Linked DNA regions of Homo sapiens: regions 1, 2, 3 and 5 are each linked to region 4. The links are contacts of gene promoters, found by promoter capture Hi-C in blood cells and fetal thymus (Javierre and others, 2016). All regions are on one chromosome and are shown on one strand. The core of a region is centred on a gene start or on the middle of the fragment in contact, and the rest is flanking DNA. Distances in the headings are between cores, read along the strand shown. Region 1 overlaps RNF145 (ring finger protein 145). Region 2 has its middle 46 kb from the start of LINC02202. Region 3 has its middle 27 kb from the start of LINC02202. Region 4 holds the start of FNDC9 (fibronectin type III domain containing 9). Region 5 overlaps RNF145 (ring finger protein 145).

Region 1 (2,981 bases), core at 253-2,752, 1.9 Mb before region 4:
TTACTTTGAAATAAATTCCCAAGAGGGTATTGGGTTATCAGTTTGCTCACCAAAGTAAGTCTTTCCACTGTAATTCCTGAAGTTATCTAGATGGCTTATACACATTAAAATGCATTAAACTCTTTACCAACAATTTCTGTGAATGTTTTGGTGTATTTTTTCCTGGGATTAGAAAAAATAATAATATCATGGGCTTTGAGAAATTTAGATTCCTCAGTGGTTGGTTTGCAATAAATATTAAAGGTTAGAGATTTTATTTTTCAGTGCATTTTTCCTTCTTAGGACATGATATTTAGTTCTGATTTTCACAATAATATTTTTTCTTATGTAGGAAAATTATGAAAATGATCTTGTTCATGTGAAATAATCAGAATTGCAGTACTTATCTATAAAAATGTTAAATCTATATTATTGGCAGGCTATATATATAAAACATTTGGGTTATGGGAATGGTTGATATATGATTATTGAAAAGCTTTTATTGATAGTGTGCCAAGTTGGGTTGCCTTTAGCTTTTTGACTATCTGAACTAGGAAGCTATGAAAATTGGAGGGTAAGATGGAAATACTGACAAATATTTAACCATAGCATAGCAATCTGTCACTATAATTTTCTGCAGAAATAAATGTTTTCGTTTGTCCTGTAATGTCTGAAATTACTGCTAAAGCTGGAAATGTGTTTAGCTTTCTCAGCAAAATTCTTAAAAGGATATTGTCAGAGCCAACAATCCAGAATTATCTTTACTCTTTAAATTGTTCTTTACCCACTTTTGTTTGCTTTTTTTTTTTTTTTTTTTTTTTTGAGACGGAGTCTAGCTCAGTTGCCTAGGCTGGAGTGCAGTATTGTGATCTCTGCTCACTGCAACCTCTGCATCCCAGGTTCAAGCAATTCTTCTGCCCTAGCCTCCTGAGTAGCTGGGACTACAGGTGTGCACCACCATGCCCGGCTAATTTTTGTATTTTTAGTACAGACGGAGTTTCACCATATTGGCTAGGCTGGTCTCGAACTCGTGACCTCATGATCTGCCTGCTTCGGCTTCCCAAAGTGCTGGGATTACAGGCGTGTGCCACTGCGCCCGGCCTTGTTTGCCCTATTTTATATTTTTTTGGATTAATTTGAAGTTCTACCATATAAAGCAGTATGGCATTGAATTGTCCCTTTAAATAGTAAATTGTCCTGATAACTGCCTTTCATTTCCTCCTCCCCCTGCCCCCCCCCACTACTTATCATGGTCTGTGCAGAGACAGGGGCTGCAGACTCAATGCCTGGCGTCTTCCATGTGCCTGCTTATCTGTGTATCAAGGGAAGAATTTGATGAACACTTGAAGGCAGATTATGGGAATTTTAGACCATATTTAACTTTAAAGATTCAAGGAAATGATATTGTAAATAATGTTCCCTCTACCTGTATCTACATCATGAGTTCTCTGGATTGTAAATTTAGCACTTCAATTTTGATTGTAAGTGAATAAGGAAAAGCATAGAGTACAAGATGCTGCAAACTAAACGTGCAGTTATCAAGTTTTTATTGAATTGCTTAGGCTTTTTCATAGAGTAAATATTCAAAATTCACCCTCTTATGAGCTACATAAATCATAGTTTTATTGGAGTGAGTGAATTTTTCAAGTTAATTTTATACAAGTTACAGTAGTCTTACAGAGTGTTTTGTTCCTAGATTTGGAGTTAGTGGCCTTTTAAAAAATTAGTTTTGAGGCCAGAACATTTAATCAGAATTATAAGATTGGACAGAACTGAATGGGTCAATGTGAAAACACAATACAGAGGTTATTTTATGAATATCTAAAAATAGTAGTTGTGGCTGAGAAGTAGTATACGTTCTCACATAGTTTTGTACAGTGTGTGACAACCTATTAGATTCGTGAAAGGGTATCTAAAAGCGATTTGTGTTGACTTTTTATTTTTATATATTGTGTCTTCTGAATTTTAGGTCTTCTCCAAGAAAAAAAAAAAGAAAAAAAAAAACAACATGGCTGCAAAGGAGAAACTGGAGGCAGTGTTAAATGTGGCCCTGAGGGTGCCAAGCATCATGCTGTTGGATGTCCTGTACAGATGGGATGTCAGCTCCTTTTTCCAGCAGATCCAAAGAAGTAGCCTTAGTAATAACCCTCTTTTCCAGTATAAGTATTTGGCTCTTAATATGCATTATGTAGGTGAGTGTCTACATCACATTTTCTAATCTTCTAGTGAGCATTCTGATTTATGTCTTAGTATCTTTTTGAATTTGGGTAAAATGAAGTTCATTTTCATTAAGATGATAGTGATATAGTTATTGATGAGTGTTTATGAATCTTGATAGTTTTGTCTTATCATTGCACATGAATTATTAAGGCTACAAGAAAGTAAGCAGTATTGGATTTATTTTACTGGATAAAACTGGAAGGCAGAAGAAAACATTCTAGATTTTAATATGATGAAATATAAACAATGAGAAATACTTTTAGAGACATTTGGCCCCTTCTAATTTGTCCTTGTTTTGGGGTTTGGTAGTAATTCAGAAAGTAAGCTTTTTAAAATGCAACATTCTTTATTGTTCCCTGAGATAAACGAAAACATTAACATCAGCTGAAGATAAAGTGTTCAGTTAAATGAAATTTGGGAAATGATACTATAATACTTTGTTCCATAAAAAAAATCCTCCTGGAACTATAATTTTTTTTTTTTTTGCTTGAATCCCCTTTCAAGAAAAATGGAACTATCATTGATATGCTATGGGGTTAGTGGTAAAAATAATGATAAGAGATTGAAGAAATTAAAGTCAAGAAATACAAGCATGAAACAGATAAAATTTACCTAGAATAAAAATCATGATCCTTACTTTTTAGGTTTTGGTTTATTTGTAATGTATATAGCAATATATTTTATTAATGTTGTGATTGCAGAGTTCCAGACATGGTTTGAATGGTACTATAGTGGTTTTGCTAATATTTTATTATTAGAGTTGCCTGTCACAAAATATATCT
Region 2 (2,781 bases), core at 208-2,707, 1.8 Mb before region 4:
ATTTCCTTTGGATATATACCCAGATAGGATTGCTGGATGATGTGGTAGTTCTATTTTTAATTTTTTGAGGAATCTCCATACTGTTTTTCATATGGCTGTGCAAGTTTACATTCCCATCAACGGATTACAAGGGCTCCCTTTTCTCCATATTCTTGGTAACTCTTGTTATCTTCTGACTTTTTTTTTTTTTTTTTGAGACGGAGTCTCACTCTTGTTGCCTAGGCTGGAGTACAGTGGCGCGATCTCGGCTCACTGCAACCTCTGCCTCCCAGGTTCAAGCAATTCTCTCCCCCACGCTTCCCCAGTAGCTGGGATTACAGGCACTAGCCACCACACCAGGCTAACATTTGTATTTTTAGTAGAGACGGGGTTTCACCGTGTTGGCCACGCTGGTCTCAAACTCCTGACTTCAGGTGATCTGTCTGCCTCGGCCTCCCAAAGTGCTGGGATTACAGACATGAGCCACCGTGCCCAGCCTCTGACTTTTTGATAATAGAGATTCTATTATAACAGGTGTGAGATGATATCTCATTGTGGTTTTGATTTTCATTTATCTGATAATTAGCAAACTATATCCTTTTTACTGATAGTCTCCAAGAAAAGAATAGCTCACACTCTGTGGCCTTCTAATCCCTTTATGAATAACTCATGAACTCCTTAGAACCCCCTGTAGGCATTATCATCTACATATCCAGATGAGGAAGCTGAGGCAGAGTTTGATGTCTTGCTCAAAGTCCACAGCAGTAAGTTCTTGCACCTACACAGTCTGGCTTCAGAATCCACTTAAGCAATACATTACAGTGTTTATTCACAGACACGTATTTTTTGGATTTTTCATTCTTGCACTTAAAATTGGAGGCGGTAGTAGGGAAAGCATCTTAGGAAGTAACTCCTGGATGCTTTTATGTGCTGGGGACTTCACCAGTTTCATTCATTCAGTAGCTGCCACAAGGTGACCCCCACCCCGAAGACCTCCCACCCCTGTTCTTTGATATAGACACCTGGCATTTTCTCCAGAGTCCCACCCGCAAGCCCTCCCTGTTCCCAGCTAGTAGCTTGCTTTCCCTACGTCTCCATGGCATCTCACCAATACACATTTGTAAGTAGCCCTTAGGAACCAGATGCAGACTAACACCAGACATCACCCCTGCCCTCACAGAACTCTCATGGGGCACTTGGAAGACTCACAGTTAAATGATAACAATAAAGTGTGATTATTTTTTTAAAGGAGCACCAAACTTTTCTACCTAACCATGGCTGTTGGCAAAGTCCACTGCTCGTAAATTCAGTCACTAAGGATGGATTTAAGCTTGTCGCTCCCAGATTCCTTTTCACCAGATGTGGGAAAACCTTCAAATCTTTACAACTGAGTATACTGCCTTGCCTTCTGTGAGGCATACCCGCCGCTCCCCCAAAACCAGCTTTATCAACACTGTGGAGACAGGTTCTCAGACTCAAGAGAGAGTCCCTTAGCATAGTGGTTCTCAAACTTTGCTGCACATTGAGATCACCTGGGGTCCTACACCCAGACATTCTAATTTTGTTGGGCTAGGGACGGGAATTCTTAGAAGCTCCCTTAGTGATTCCAGCGTGCACCAAAGCTTGGGAATCACAGTGTCCCAAGAGATCAGCACTTTGCTGTTCTGTTGCCGTTGACACCTGAGATAGATCTTCTCGCGACAGTGTGCCTGGTTTGTAGCATGATTTCCTCCACTCTGAACCTTGGTATTCTCAACAACCAATCTTCTCTTAAATCAGCATCAGGCAAGTTCAATGACTTTCATGCTGCTGCTAATTTTGGGGCTCAGACCTGGCGAACTGGCATCTGTGAGCTGAATCTGACTGGCAAACTTCTTTTGTTTTGCTTGGATGGTGATTCTAAAAAAATTGAACATTTAAAAATCAGGCTGTGTATGGTAGTTCATACTTCTATGAACCACTATGCTAAGTATGAACTCCCACTTTGGGAGGCTGAGGTGGAAGTATCACTTGAGGCCAGAAGTTCAAGACCAGGCTGGGCCACACAGGGAGACCTGGTCTCTGTAAAAAATGCAAAAATTAGCTGGTGTGGTGGTGCACACCTGTGGTTCCATCTACTTGGGAGGCTGAGGGAATTGCTTGAGCCCATGACGTTGAGGGAGGCCGCAATGAGCTGTGATCACACCACTGCACTCCAGCCTGGGTGACACAGTGAGACACTGTCTCGAAAAAATAAAAAAGGTGAGATTTCACACAAAAAGTATGGATTCCTGGATTCTTTGGAAAAATTAGAAGGTCTCAGCCCATTTCCACCATAATATTCATCAGGAGCCCAGGGGCTTCTGCCCTTTAACAGGCACTTACTCCCTCCCACCCACCCAGTTCACTAGGTCCTACCCAGATCCCAACATTTATGTTATCCGTGACCCCTGAAGATCATTATTCCTTTTTGGTAGTTGCTTTTTTTTATTATTATTATACTTTAAGTTTTAGGGTATATGTGCACAATGTGCAGGTTTGATACATAGGTATACATGTGCCACGTTGGTTTGCTGCACACATCAACTTGTCATTTACATTAGGTATTTCTCCTAATGCTATCCCTCCCCCAGCCACCCACCCCCTGACAGGCCCTGGCATTTGATGTCCCCCACCCTGTGTCCAAGTGTTCTCATTGTTCAATTCCCACCTATGAGTGAGAACATGCGCTGTTTTGTTTTCTGTCCTTGTGATAGTTTGCTGAGAATGATGGTTTCCAGCTTCATCCATGTCCCTGCAAAGGACATGAAGTCATCCTTTTTT
Region 3 (3,208 bases), core at 706-3,205, 1.8 Mb before region 4:
TTAGCGAAATAATTATGTAATAATAATTAGTATAATTATTTCACTAATTTTCATGCAGAGAAGCACATAGAAAAAATGATTTTAAACTTTCAACTTCCAGCATGATGGAATGAGAAGGCAGAGAAATTCTGTCCTCAAAAAGCAACTATTAAGTTGGTCAAAACTTCAAAACCAACAATTTCAGTGCTCTGAAAGTTGACCAAAAGCATACCACAAACTGATGAAATGTCCTGAAGTTTGGGTAAGAACAGCATGAGTCTGTGGTGGTGTTGCCCAGGCTGCTCCCATCCCCTCCCTCCCCGCCTGCCAGTTCTGTGGTGGTAGTTCAACCAGCGGGGGCCAGGTCATGGAGACCCACAGCCTTGTTGCTGCTGCCAGAAGGTGCTCCTTGATTTGGAATGTTGTCAGTTAAAGTGGCAATCTTAGTAACAAGTGGATAGGGAGAGCCAGCAGCTCTGCTAGTCTGAGATTATGGCCCTATTTGGGACAAGCGGTGGACCGAGAGGCTTCCAGGGATTTAACAGGGACGCACAGATATGAGATAGCCCCAGGGGCTTGGTAATCTCCCCACATATCCTGTGTTGACGAGAGGCTGTGCTCATGTGCTACAGAGATAAGCTTGAACCCAGGCCATTCACACATGCCTGGCCAATAGAACCTGCACACATGAACAGAAGAGAAATAAGAAAGCCCAACAGAAAATAAAAGTCAAGCCTGACTTAAAAACTTCCTAAGTTTTGAATGTACTCCCCACTCCACACATAGCCCATTAGCAAAGAGTGAAAGCCTCACTGGCTTGAGGGGTTTGAGTGCTGTTGCTGACCATTCTTAACCTGAACTCTAAGCTGTCAAGGGCAATTCCTAGGCATCCAGGCTTTAAAATGTAAACAAAGATAAAAACTGATCAAAGTCAACAGTGGCCACACGCTTTATAGATTTAGCCCAGGCAAGTTACTAAGTTAAAAAACAAACAAACAAACAAACAAACAAACAACTCTAGGAGGAAAAAATCACAATCCAGAGTGGCTGCAGTATTAGCTAAGATGTTCAATATTCAATATAAAATTACAAGGCATATAAAGAAACCAAAAGGATGACCAAACTGAGTCTACTGAAACTGTCTCTGAGTGTTTCCAGATAATGAATTTAGAAGACAAAAATTTCAAAGTAGCTATTATAAATGTGTTCAAAGAGCTGAAGAAAACAATTTTTAAAGATTGAAGCAAAACATGACAACAATGACTGAATAGAGAATCTCAATAAAGAGACAAAAATTATTTAAAACAAATGAAAATTCTGAAGTTAAAAATTCTAACTGAAATGAAAAGTTTACTACAGAAGCTTAACTGTAATTCTGAGCTAGCAAAAGAAAGAACTAGGGCTGAACGTGGTGGTTCACGCCCGTAATGCCAACACTTTGGGATGCTGAGACAGGCAGATCACTTCGGGCCAGGAGTTCAAGACCAGCCTGGCCAACATGGTGAAACTCTGTCTCTACTAAAAATACAAAAAAAAGTGGCCAGGCATGGTGGCATGCGCCTGTAATCTCAGCTACTCGGGAGGCTGAGGCAGGAGAATTGCTTGAACCTGAGAGACAGAGGTTGCAGTGAGCTGAGATCATACCACTGCACACCAGCCAGGGTGACAGAGTGAGACCTTAAAAAAAAAAAGAAAAGAAAAAAGAAAGAAAGAAAGAACCAGGAATTTGAAAAGAGAGCAGTGAAAATTACCGAATCTGAAAAATAGGGAGAAAAAAGATGAAAGAGAAATAGACAATCCTATAGACCTGTGGAATAATATTAAATGTACCAACCTAGGTGTAATGGGAGTCTCAGAAAGAGATGGAAAGGAAAATGAGATAGAAAAACACCTAAAAGTAATGGCCAAAAACATTTCAAATTTGATGAAAATATATTAATGTACAGATCCAAGAACTTCAAAGAATTTCAAGTAGGATATACACAAAAAGATCCTCCTTAGACACCTCAGAATTAACCTGTTGAAAAATAAATACAAAGAGAAAATCTCAAAAACATAAAAAAACCCCACAACACAGAGGAACAAGAATCCTAGTAACATCTGATTTCCTATCAGAAAGAATGGAGGCCAGAAAAGCAGTAGAAAGCTATATTCAAAGTGCTGATAGGAAAATTTTTTAAAAGCCTGCAAACTTAGAATTCTACATCAAACAAAATTATCCTTCAAAAGTGAATACAAAAATAAAGATGTTCCGGAAATAAATGAATATTGAAAGAATTCCTCACTAGCAGAGCTGCTTTACAAAAATACAGAAAAGGTCTGTTAGGCTGAAAAAAAGTGACAACAGAAAATAGCTGTAATCCTAAAGAATAAGCGAAGAATGTCAGAAATAACAAATATGTGGGAAATTGTAAAAGTCTCTAGAAATAAGTTTTTCTCATTTTTCTTTTAATTTCTTTAAATGATACAAGACTGTATAAGGCAATACTTATAACAATCTAGTTGTATAGAGTTAATGTAGAGACATAATCTATACAACATAATAGCACTAATGAAGGGGGAAAAAAGAGATATATTAGAGCAAGCTTATCCACCCCATGGTCTGTGGGCCACATACAGCCCAGGATGGCTTTAAATGTGGCCCAACACAAATTTGTAAGCTTTCTTAAAACATTATGAGATTTATGCATGGAATTTTTTTAAAGCTCATTAGCTATCATTAGTGTTATTGGATTTTATGTGTGGCCCAAGACACTTTGTCTTCCAATGTGGCCCAGGGAAGTCAAAAAATTGGAAACCCCTGTATTAGAGCAATGTTTCTATATTTTACCAGAAATGACTTAGTATTATTCTGAAGTAGATTGTGATAAGTTGAAGTGCATATTGTAAACCCTAATACAACCACTAAGAAAACACCTAAATGACATATAGTAAAATGTACACAGAGGAATTAAAAATGACACATTAAAAATATTTATTTAACACAAAAGGAGGCAGTAAAGCAGGAACAAAGGAAATACATGAGACAAACAACACACAGCAAAATGGCTAACATAAATGCAAAGATTATCAACAGTTACATTAAACATGATTGGACTAAACACTCACTAAATACTCCACTCAAAAGGCAGAGATTGTCAGACTGAATGAAAAAGCAAGAGCCAATTATATGCTATCTATAAGAGATCTGTTTTAGGTTCAAAGGCACAAATAGGTTAAAAGAAAAGGA
Region 4 (3,140 bases), core at 510-3,009:
GCTGCAGAGCAACTTTCTGATCAAGGAACACTGGCTTGTTCCCGAGTTCCCAAGACTCCAAGCCTCCCGGAGACCTTTGGCCAAGGGTAGGGTCACAACTCACCAAGGCGGCTCTTTTTTTTTTTTTTTTCCAAGGGAAAAAGTCTTTCTATAATACCCAGGCTGGTCTGGAACTCTTAAGCTCAAGTGATCCTCCCACCTCAGCCTCCCAAGTGGCTGGGACTACAGGTGCACACCACTGCAGCTGTGCCTGGCTTTCTTCCTAACCTTTTATCATTAATGTGAATCAGAAAGAGACCTTCATGGGTTAACTTGGATACTTTGGCCAAGAACCAAGAAGAGAAAAGCTGACTTTTAAAAACATATAATGTGTATAAATTTATTCAGGTCTACATCTATCTGAGCTACTTTCCACCCTCTATTCCAGACACACCCTGTGATCTCAATAGAATGGTGGCAATGGGTTCTTACAAGGTTGAAAGGAACAGGAAGGGATGGAACCTCAAAGCCAGACGGCCCTTTATGAGAAAAGGGGAGGCAAGCAGTCTGGATTCTTGAAAGGAAAGGAACGCTGGGGATGATTCAATCCAGGAGTAGCAAACAGTTTCCATTTCTGGCGTCAACTCCAACTGATTGATTGGGAAGCAGTTTCTTGGGACGCTTGTGTTCAGAGGAACTCTGGGGCTGTTTCTGCACCCAGCTGGAAGCAGTGCTGCATTAGATTCCTAGGGTTGCTATCACAAATTACCATAAATGTGGCAGCTTAACATGACAGAAATTTATTCTCTCACAGTTCTGGAGACCAGAAGCCTGAAATCAAGGCTCTCGCAGAACCATGCCCTCTCCAAGGCTCTAGGGGAGAATGTTTCCTTGCCTTCCCAGCTGCTGATGGCTCCCGGTGTTCCTTGGCTGATGGCAGCATCCTTCCACTCTCTGCCTCTGTTTTCCCTTGGCTTCTTCCCCTTGAGTCTCTCTGTCTTTTCTCTTACAAAGACATTAGTCATTGGATTTAGGGCTCACCCTTAAATCCAGGAAGATTTCATCTTGAGATCCTTAACTAGTTATATCTACGAAGGCTCTATTTCTAAATCAGGTCACATCCTAAGGTTCTGGATGGATATGTATTTTGGGGGGGCATTATTCAACCCAGTGAGAGTGCCATGATGGTTTAGCAAGCTTGACAGGGGTTCAGGGCTGTGCAGGGATAGGGCTCAGGTCTTCTGCCTTCTGATCTGCCATCCTGATGTAGCCCAAGCCCACAGCTTTACAGATGATGGTGGAACTGAGACTCAGACAATAAAAATAAAAGGGTCTTGACCAGTACCATATAACTATGTAATGGCACATGAGTCAAGAATAAAGAAAGATGAAGATAAAGAGGTGGGGTAGGCAGTTGGGATGGGGAAGTGTAGGGGTGGGAGGGGATGAAGATGAATATTACTGCTTTGGTTGTGGAATAACTGAGAAAAGCATCTTTGCATTTAAAACCATTGGCCAAAGAGGATCTAGATGGGACAAGAAAATAATAATCAGCCAACTGGGGAGAAAATGTAGGAGTGTTAGAAGAATTAGTACTGCACTGGGGACCAGTTTTCAGGGGATCATCTGCCCTTTTTCAGCCAAAGGAATGAGAGCTCCTCTCACTGGGCAAAAGCCTTTCCAGGCTGGTCCCTGAAAGCATCGTGCGTACAGATGCCTGCTGGTTGCCATGGTGAATGATGCTGATCTGAAGAAATGAATAATGTGAGCATTAGGGGCGGCAGTGGGATTACTCAGTGTTGAGAGAAACAACACGGAAAGCCCAGAGCAGAGGAGGGAGAAGGCCCCATTCTCTCAGCTTTAATCTACTGCACCTCGGAGGGCAGAGCTCTAACCAGACACGCTGCAAGCATCAGGTAAGACATATAGATGGCTCTTCTTGGAAATGGAAATGGCTTCTTTTCACACTCTGCTTGGAGAAGGGCCGGGCAAATGAATAGTTAAAAATAGGGGAGAATTTAGAAACGGAAACAGAGGAAGAAAAATCAATAAGGGAGACGGACCTGGTCCTAAAAGGTGAGGATGCTATTTGCGTCTTGACAGAAAGCTCTTAAAAATGTCTGCTGAGGTAATTCCATCTGTACAGACAGCTAGTGGCAGATAGGAAGCCAAGAGAACATTTGTGCGTGACAAGAAACAGGATTCCTGATTACTCCTGATGGAAAGGTTTTACACAGGTGGCTGCCTATAATGAATTAAGCTCTTTTCATCGTGGTCGAAAGTGTATTTATAGTGATGTGTGGTGTGGGGAGGATGAGTGTGTAGAGGACACCAAGCTAGGAAACATAAACATTCGGTCTCCTTCATGATGACCTTCCCTGGAAGGGTCTGAGCACATCCGTCTCATCCCTTTCGTTCCCTATTTACTGGGAAGAAATATTCAGCCACATAGAAAGACACTATTCACCTTCCTGAGTATCTTAGTTCACTGTTACCCTTACAGAAGAAAAACAAGGATTAAGAAACTACTCAATGCTGTGCACCTTTCTGCAGCTCCACTCCTGGAGGAAAATGGGCACAAACACAAGAGGATGGGGGAAAGCAGAGGTGAGAGAAAGGCAGGTCATAATAGCCATTGGTTTGGCTTAATATCCAATGCAGGCGAAAATCCAGTTGACAGCTGTTTACTATGTCACTGCAACCCAAAATGAAACCTACGGGGTTTCATGTGAGGGAGGAGAGGCGGAAGACAAAGCAGGGTGAGACTGTTATGTGAATATGCGTAGGCTGACTATGACTGTCTCTGTATTTCTGATCAGGGGCAATCAGTAGAGGGAACTGCATGAGAGAAACTAAAATACTTGAAGATGGCTCTCTCTTATCAAAGCGGGGCCTGGCAATCTAAAGAGGGCTCATTTGATTTGTCTGGAAAAACAGCAACTGGGTCTCAGTCCTGGCACCTCATTTTGCGATAACGTCTGTAACTAAACCCGGCAGCCTTGCATTAGGAAATGTAGTGGTTAGGCGGCACTAAGTCCTTTTTCTACGTATTAGCGGTGTGACATCAGGTTGCTCATCCGTAAAATGGGAATCTAGCTCAGAGGATGTGATGAAGAATAAAGGAAATTAATTACTGCCTGTGAATCATCTAGCATGACAAG
Region 5 (2,886 bases), core at 171-2,670, 1.8 Mb before region 4:
AAAAATGGTTTGACTATTTTCAATACATACTTTTATAAGAGAATAAAGTTATTTAAAATATTAAGACAAGGGACATATTAGAAAAATGCAATCATGTGACTAAGGATTACTATTTCGATCAGGCAGTAGGATACGTATTCTAGCAGAAAAATGGGCAAAGAATGTGAACATTTCACCAAATAATTGCAAATGTTTTCATATACTTATTGATAATGTTCAGTGCTGTTAGTAACCAACAAAATGCCAATTTAAAAAATTTGGGAAATATTCCCTGTTCTTCCCATCTCTAAATTATACTCACTATGGCAAGTTAATAGAAAAATAGCCACATTATACACTGGTAAATTGTTGCTGGAGGGCAGTCTTGACAGTGTGTCAAAGTCTTTAAAAATGTTTTTTTCTGATTCAGTAATTCCTAGCCTAAGAGAATATTAGGAAATGTGTTCCAAGTAGTTTATACAAGGATGTCATAATGTAAAAGCTTATTCATACAAAGCATTTTATAATTATGGAATATTTGGAAAGGGCTAAATGCAAATATCATGTCACATACATTCAGTGTACCCCAGGGTGTTCTTAGGACTACCTTTGGGTTGTGGGATTATAAGAGACTGAGAGTTTCCCATTTTGTTCTTTGTATTTCTGTGTTTAATGTAATGATCATGCGTAATCCCCAGTGAGAAGAATTTATTTAGTTTTTAGTTTTAACTTATGATTTAGTTATTTGGGGCAGTTTACTTGGCCCTCCAAAAATAAAGATTAAAAAATTATCAGAACAAATATTGTTGCAGTATGATCTTGAACAAGTAATTATATCTCTTGGATTTTATGCTTTCACCTATAGACCAGAACAGTTAAATATTGCGTACCTTTGGAAAAGAAGTTATGTATAAACATTAGCAACTGAATTGTCACAATACTGAATTAGACATTGTTTAAAGTTTTCTTCATATTACACATGGCATCACAGACGACCAGTGGAGATTTATGCTGCTCTTTCCAGATCAGCCCTACAGAATTAGTATTCAAAATTCACAGAACATGTGAATATGTAATTATAGTCAGATGAAGTTTAAGTTTGATTTAAAATATTATCTACGAGATTTTAGTTAGACTTCTTCAAAAGTTGTGTTATTATCCTTATCAACAGTGTTTTTTGTTTGTTTTTATTTTGTGGATGCCAAATACTCAAAATTAAATGTATTCTATTCCCTATTTTAGGTCAGTTGGTGGTGTGTACTTTATGCTCCTGTGTCATGAAAACAAAGCAGATTTGGCTGTTTTCAGCTCACATGCTTCCTCTGCTAGCACGACTCTGCCTTGTTCCTTTGGAGACAATTGTTATCATCAATAAATTTGCTATGATTTTTACTGGATTGGAAGTTCTCTATTTTCTTGGGTCTAATCTTTTGGTACCTTATAACCTTGCTAAATCTGCATACAGAGAATTGGTTCAGGTAAGACTGCTGACAACCACAAACAGGTAGATAAAATTCTACATAAATGTTAAGTACATTAAAGTTATAGTTCATTTTTATTTCACAGTTATGGTACCATTCATTTTTGCAGTTTCAAAACAGCTGCTATTTTCAGCCCAATTAGGAGCATCTGAAAGATTCTTGATTATGTTCTATTGAGAAGGCAGTAAAGTGAAGTGGTTCTCTTAAAGCAGATTTATCTGAGATCGAACCCTGATGCTGCTGTTCACTAGCTGTGTAACCTTGTGATAATTGCGTTACTTTCTGTAAAACGGAGCTAATAATGAAAGCTGTGCTTTCCTCATAGAGTTCTGTGAGATTTAAATGAGTTTAGTACCAGGCAGACAATGTTCCATATGTGTTAGCTATTGTAATGAAGACAAAAATAATAAAGAATTGAATACCTATAAGTCAAATCCTGCTTTTTCCTTCTGATTATAGTCCTACTGTGACTATAGTTTCTTCCCTTTGTGTGCCTAATTTAAACAGAAAAGTTAAATAGTTCTGGGTTATAATATGATAGATTTCATTTAGATATAGTACTTGAATTGACTTTGCCAACATAACATGCTTTTTGTAAAAGTTTCTTCCCTACTTTTTTCAGCCTTTGCTCTAAGATAAATTACTCCCAGATACAAACAATACACATTTGGGAAATAAATGTTTCTGTTTGGTTTAATTGATAGTTTGTAATATATAAAATAGATTTTAACCTGACATTGGTATAAAAAGAGAGTGTTAAAATGTCACTGTCTTCCACCTCTTGACTGTGTCCTTAAGGTACAGGAAGCTCTCAGATAGAACAAACTGATAACAGCTAAGTGAAGTATTCTCTTGTGGCCCCAGGGGCAGATCTTTGAGAATACTTTCTCTAAGCTTTTGGCCTTAGCCTGATTCTATCTTCGTCTTACACAGTGATTAACTTGGGCAGTTTTCCCAGGAGTAGATCTTCCAGAAAAGGGATTATTTCTACAGTCAGTGAAGAGTGGCTTCATGGGGAAGCAGGGCAGGAAGGGTTATAGTTGTATTCAGGGTAATAATGACAAATTTAAGATACATATTTTTTCTTTGAATTCAGTCTTATGAGGGTTATCTTTGTTTGTAATAAATAATGAATATTCAGTAAATACTTATTGAATATTAAATATTTATTGAATAACCTCAGCCTTCATTTTTTAATGTCATGTTTAGTTGGTTGCCATAAGATTCATACATCAACTAGATGTAGTTGTTGGAAATATAGGTTATAAAATGCGTGACCAGGAAAGAATCAGATAAGCAAGAAATGGAAACAGACAGGTTTTTTTAGTGGTCTGTTTCTTGAATGGAAAGGAAGAAAAATATTCTCTGCCTCGTAATGATGAGTTTACCTGATAATAATTTTGCAGCTAGTTGGGCAGTTTCCTTT

The links. Contacts are between HindIII fragments. The CHiCAGO score rates a contact against its expected background, and 5 or more counts as called.
Region 1: a contact is called between a fragment that was not itself captured here and the fragment with the promoter of FNDC9 in region 4, in 1 of 17 cell types (neutrophils). The highest score is 6.1, in neutrophils.
Region 2: a fragment that was not itself captured here is called in contact with the fragment with the promoter of FNDC9 in region 4 in 1 of 17 cell types (naive B cells); the score reaches 5.6 in naive B cells.
Region 3: a fragment that was not itself captured here is called in contact with the fragment with the promoter of FNDC9 in region 4 in 1 of 17 cell types (M2 macrophages); the score reaches 6.5 in M2 macrophages.
Region 5: a fragment that was not itself captured here is called in contact with the fragment with the promoter of FNDC9 in region 4 in 2 of 17 cell types (neutrophils and naive B cells); the score reaches 5.7 in neutrophils.

The regions. Positions count from the first base shown.
Region 1 is chr5:159,202,624-159,205,604 of GRCh38, reverse strand. It overlaps RNF145 (ring finger protein 145), which reads left to right. Exons shown (of 11, transcript NM_001199383.2): 2 at 1,949-2,171. The coding sequence starts at 1,988. Among named protein-coding and RNA genes, the nearest start is that of RNF145, 5.4 kb to the left of the region's middle. The HindIII fragment of the contact is 2,049 bases long and covers 478-2,526 here.
Region 2 is chr5:159,145,359-159,148,139 of GRCh38, reverse strand. No RefSeq gene overlaps it. Among named protein-coding and RNA genes, the nearest start is that of LINC02202, 46 kb to the right of the region's middle. The HindIII fragment of the contact is 292 bases long and covers 1,312-1,603 here.
Region 3 is chr5:159,125,595-159,128,802 of GRCh38, reverse strand. No RefSeq gene overlaps it. Among named protein-coding and RNA genes, the nearest start is that of LINC02202, 27 kb to the right of the region's middle. The HindIII fragment of the contact is 1,223 bases long and covers 1,344-2,566 here.
Region 4 is chr5:157,344,296-157,347,435 of GRCh38, reverse strand. FNDC9 (fibronectin type III domain containing 9) reads left to right here and starts at 1,759. Exons shown (of 2, transcript NM_001001343.4): 1 at 1,759-1,895. The region is part of intron 23 of CYFIP2 (cytoplasmic FMR1 interacting protein 2); the gene reads right to left. The HindIII fragment of the contact is 2,139 bases long and covers 1,179-3,140 here.
Region 5 is chr5:159,175,203-159,178,088 of GRCh38, reverse strand. It overlaps RNF145 (ring finger protein 145), which reads left to right. Exons shown (of 11, transcript NM_001199383.2): 5 at 1,222-1,457. Among named protein-coding and RNA genes, the nearest start is that of RNF145, 33 kb to the left of the region's middle. The HindIII fragment of the contact is 1,873 bases long and covers 484-2,356 here.